2 separate regions of the Homo sapiens genome follow, and region 2 is linked to region 1. The links are contacts of gene promoters, found by promoter capture Hi-C in blood cells and fetal thymus (Javierre and others, 2016). All regions are on one chromosome and are shown on one strand. The core of a region is centred on a gene start or on the middle of the fragment in contact, and the rest is flanking DNA. Distances in the headings are between cores, read along the strand shown.

Evidence for each region. Contacts are between HindIII fragments. The CHiCAGO score rates a contact against its expected background, and 5 or more counts as called.
Region 2: a contact is called between a fragment that was not itself captured here and the fragment with the promoter of DOCK10 in region 1, in 1 of 17 cell types (activated CD4 T cells). The highest score is 5.1, in activated CD4 T cells.

What each region holds. Positions count from the first base shown.
Region 1 is chr2:225,041,203-225,043,753 of GRCh38, forward strand. It overlaps DOCK10 (dedicator of cytokinesis 10), which reads right to left and starts at 1,266. Exons shown (of 56, transcript NM_014689.3): 1 at 1,050-1,266. The coding sequence starts at 1,172. RefSeq lists an enhancer at 1-312 and silencers at 863-1,102, 1,293-1,662. The HindIII fragment of the contact is 1,396 bases long and covers 1-1,366 here.
Region 2 is chr2:224,521,040-224,523,590 of GRCh38, forward strand. All of the region lies in intron 3 of CUL3 (cullin 3), which reads right to left. Among named protein-coding and RNA genes, the nearest start is that of CUL3, 63 kb to the right of the region's middle. RefSeq lists a silencer at 619-688. The HindIII fragment of the contact is 1,963 bases long and covers 292-2,254 here.

The DNA of each region.
Region 1 (2,551 bases), core at 16-2,515:
GCAAGAGTAACACTTTCACACTCTTAAAAAGAGCCGTTTAGTTCCTAATGATATTTTCTGGCAAAAAAGAAAATGAAACACACAACCCGGATTCCGGTCCACCAAACGCAGGCCAAGAGCGCGGCTGCTGAGCCCCGGTCTTGCTGTGAGGCTGTTGTTCCCACTCGCTTCCCGTTTCCACTAGAGTTGATTTGTCTCTTGCCACCTCTCCCCGGCAGTGTGGACCTACTGCAACGCAGGAACATCTGGGTTGGTATGGATAGGATCCTAGCATCAGATGCTGGCTGCTGCCCCAGGGACTTCCCGCGGAAATCACCCAGCACTTAGAAGCCGTTTCAATAAGGAAGTAACCAGTAAAGCATTGCTGGTGGGAGAACCCCGCGAAACATCTTAGAAAAATATCAGAAACCGCTGGAGACCTAATGACCCACGTCTCCTCCAGCCTGTGTTCCTCAGCCCTTTCTGGAGGAGTATTAAGTGGTTTGTGGGTTTTTACCCTGCGGTGGGAGGGCTGTTCCAAGTACATCTATTTCTGCGATAGTTAACGTCGGGGGGCCCCAGCTCTAACCAGGGCGAGGACCACGGACTGCATCCCTCTCTCTCAGCGCACTGGTCTGTTTACTGGAGGGTGAGAGGGACGCGCAGACCTCCGGACTCAGGGGTTCTGTTCTGTAGATCCCCCCACCCCACCCGGGGTCTCTGGCACTCGTATCACTTAGCACCAGTGTGACTGGCGGTGCATTCCGGCCCCCTCGCGCCCCATTAAAGCCCCTGCACATCCTCTCCCACGCTGCGCTTCTGCTACCCACGCAGCTGCTCCTCTGAGCGTCCCGCGTGCACAAACGCGCCCCCGGTCCTTACGCGTCGGTGGCGCTGCCTCGCTGAGGTGGCGCCGGGGGAGCCCGCAGAGGCGGCGGGGGAGGGAGTGCGGAGGAGAGGACCCGTGAGCTGCGGGGACCTGGGCCCGCCGAGCTTTTGGGGAAGCTGGGCTCCGTTCCCCCCGGGCGCCTGGGGCGCGCGGGAAGGCGCGGAGGACGCGCCGCACTCACCCGCTGCTGCTGCCGGCTGCTGACTGCCACCGCGGCGGCGGACGCGGCGCTGTGCCGGAGCTCGGCCGCCTGCCCAGGTCTCAACAGGCTCCGGGTGAACCTGCGGGTCCGCTCACCGGCCATCGCCGGTCACGCCAATCGCGCCGCGGGCCCGGGGCGCGCCTCCCGCCGGTCTTCCCCGCGCCAACCTTCTCTATCCACCCGCCGTTCAGGAAGCGGAACTCGGAGCCTTCCCCCCCCTCTTCCTCGCTCAACTCGCAAGAGGCGGGTTTTTCTCTCTTGCACCCCCACTCTTCCCACCCCCTTCCCTCCTCTGAAGCTTCTCGAAGACTTTCCAAACTCTGCGCTCCCCCGGGCGCGCGCGGCCAACTCGGCTGGCGGCCGGGCCCTGCAGCGGCGCATCTGGAGCGGGCGTCGCGGGACGCGTGTGGGGCGGCTCCTGCCCGCGCCGCCCACACGGGCTCAGCTGGCCGGCCGGGGCTGTCCACGCCGCCCGGGGGAACTGCAGGCTGCGGGGGAGGGCGGGGGGCGGCCGCCGAGGGGCTCCGGGCGGGGCCTGTCCAAGGCCGTCGCCTGTCCAAGGCCGTCAGCCTCATTTGGAGGTTGCTGGGAGAGTTGGAGCCCTGGATGCATTTGCCGTTTAGACTTCTATTTTCTGGGTCCGGCTAGTGGGTGGGGGCCAAGCTCGGTTCGCCCTTCCACCCTCGGGAAGGGGTCAGAGGCTTATTAAAGATCTGGTGGCTGGGATCCCAGCAGCATCGCCCAAGCCAGCGTTTGGAAGGCTCCCTTGCCAGAAGTCCATGTTCAGGGCCTTGGAATAAGCTTCCCCATTCATTCACTCCTTCAATGAGTATTTATTAAGCGCCTACTATATGCCAGCTCACACTGTTCTGGAAACTGAGGATACGGAGAGGAACTTAGCAACTACACTTTAAGGCTGTGTAGAGCTGATAGGTTTTTTCGGGGTAGGGGTGGGAGACAGCAAGTAACCAAGCGAACAAATAAACAAATACAGAGAAATCAAGGAGACAGTTTAAGCTACTAACACGAACTCAAAACCAATAAATCAGCGTTCTGGGGGTAAGAGACTTTGGGTGGCATTAGGATGAGTAGGCAAGAACCAACTGGCAGGGTTACTATGTAGGGTGGTCAGGTCGGGGGTGGATTTCACAGTTATGCTGTCTCTGCTCTTCTCTTGCCCATACCCATCTAGCCTGCACTTTGCCTCTAGATAGGTATCTGATGAAAGCCTTCTAAGAAGTCTCTTCCTGGGTCATACCCAGGGTGGTTCTGCAATTCAGTGTTGGACTGGATGGGGGGCAGAGAAGTTCTGGCCCCTGGATACTGGTCTGGAGAGATCTGGGACAGCCTTTCCAAGTGGTCTGGTTTTTTCTTAACAGCTTTTTATGGATCCATGACCCTGCCACTTTCTAAAGCCAATGATAGATAGTTATAACACAAGGTCACATTTGGGTATAAAGAATTCTTAAGCAATTGATAAA
Region 2 (2,551 bases), core at 23-2,522, 520 kb before region 1:
AGTTAAAATAAAAACAAATGTGAAAATTAAGTCCAAAAAACAACTTAACTCTTACTACTTAATTTACCTGCAAGAAAAAGTTTAGTAAATATTTTTAATAGTCATTATGTTACAGAAAAGCAAGCTAGGATAAATGGGTTCTAGGCAAAATCAATGGTGCACCCAAGGAAAGAAACAACTTAAAAATTGTTATTTTATCATTCCTATCTAATGTTTCATTTGTAACTATGAGTAAACAGGTGTTTGAGAACAAATTCTAAAACTAACCTTTGGGTCACATTCAACTCTGAAAGCTTAGTATAAATATAAATACAAAAGTCCTCTGGTTCTATTACAAAGTTTAAGGGAGCTTTTAATAACATGTTTGCTTTAAAGTCCAGTAGTTTCATACTTCTTTTTTTTTTTTTTTGAGACAGAGTCTCGCTCTGTTGCCCAGGCTGGAGTGCAGTGGCACGATCTCGGTTCACTGCAACTTCCGCCTCCCAGGTTCAAGTGATCCTCCTGCCTCAGCCCCGCTAGTAGCTGGGATTACAGGTATGTGCCACCATGCCCGGCTAATTTTTGTATTTTCAGTAGAGTTGGGGTTTCACCATGTTGGGCCAGGCTGGTCTCTAACTCCTGACCCGCCTCGGCCTCTCAAAGTAGTTCAGTACTTTTACTACTACTCCTAATAGACCAAGGATAGTTATTTATTAGTACTTATTCATCTATCCTCTGCCTGGTCCCACATATGGCCAGCAGTAGCTATTTATTTAGGAAAAAAAAAAAAGGTTTAACAATGTGTGAATTGCTGTGAAAGTTGGTCTTTTAAGCTAACTGTCAAGCTGGTTAATCAAACTCTTAAATAGTTCTTCTTTCAGTTTCTTATCCTCATACTAAGAACATCTGTAACTGTTTTTGTCTACTACTGTAAAAGAGAATACGAAAAGACAAATGTAAACAGGGTTAAAAAAATCTTTATAAATATTAAATACTTATTCTGCTAGTAAGCTAGAGATAAACCCTGAAAAGTTAAACTCACATTTAAAATTAAAAAAAAAAAAAAAAGAGGCAAATAACTCTATGACAAGTCTGTCAGAACATGTTAGAACTTGCCTTACCAAATTTAATCACTAAGGTAATCCTCTATTAACAAGTAATAAAATATTTTCAGAGTTCACTTTCAAATCATGAAATAAATACAGATTTAAAAAGGTTTAACACAATGAAGACAGAAATAGAAAAATTTTAAATGAGCAGAAAAGTAGTAAAAAGTTTCTACTGCAGAATCATAGTGGGGGAAAAAAAGTCTAATTATAATTAGATCGAAGTTTAAAGAACTTTCTCAATACTTTCCATGATACCAGTAACTGACTACACTTCTAAAACAGCACCAGTAACATATGAATTAGTAAATTGTACAGATAAACATTTCTAGATATAAAAATATTACTGATAAATTTGGTAGAGAAGCATATGATATGGTGTCAAAAAACCTGGTGGACTTAGCCACTACTAAAAAGCTCAGAGTTTCCACCACAGTAAAAATTTTCTTAAAATCTTTCTTGGGAGGCCGAGGCGGGCGGATCATGAGGTCAGGAGATCGAGACCATCCTGGCTAACACAGTGAAACCCCATCTCTACTAAAAAATACAAAAAAATTAGCCAGGCGTGGTGGCGGGAGCCTGTAGCCCAGCTACTTGGGAGGCTGAGGCAGGAGAATGATATGAACCCGGGAGGCGGAGCTTGCAGTGAGTCAAGATCCTGCCACTGCACTCCAGCCTGGGTGACAGCGTGAGACACCGTCTCAAAAAAACAATCCTTCTCAGGGGTCTGAAAAATTTTAACAAGAAAAACACAGTTGTGAAAATTTTTTATTTAAAAATAATTTCCATTTAAGAATTGTCTACCAAGATATTGGACAAATCAAACCCATGTTTCTCTAAAGTTGTGTAAACTGCAATAAATCATAAAATAAAAACACTGTTCTCTACTTCAAATTTAATAATCTAGAGGTCAGAGGGAAAAAAAACAGTTAATCACACTTTGAGGTCTTAGAGCAATGAATTTATAAGACTATCTTTCAGGAAAGAAGACCTGTATTAGAGAAGCAATACAATTCAGTGGTTAAGAGCACTGATTCAAGAACCAAATAGCCTCTGTTTCAGTCTTGTCTGCCATTTACTAGGTGTGACCTTAGTATCTGTCTCAGTTGCCTCATCTGTAAAATAACATCTACCTCAAAATGTTATTCCACCTTTAGTACTGAAAGAAAAGCTTTTGTAAGACCAACGCCCCTGGAAGAACAACTATAAAAGCTGGATGAAAATAAAAAACTACCACCTCATACCCATTAGAAGAGTTACTATAAAAAAAAAAAACACAAAACACAAAATAACAAGTTTTGACAAGAATGTGGAAAAATTAGAGCTCTCGTGCACTGTTGGTGGAAACCTAAGATAGTATAGCTGCTGTGGAAAGCAATATAGCAGTTCCTCAAAAATTACAAAAACAATTAACATAGGATCCACTAATTCCACTTCTGGGTATACACCCAAAAGAAATGAAAGCA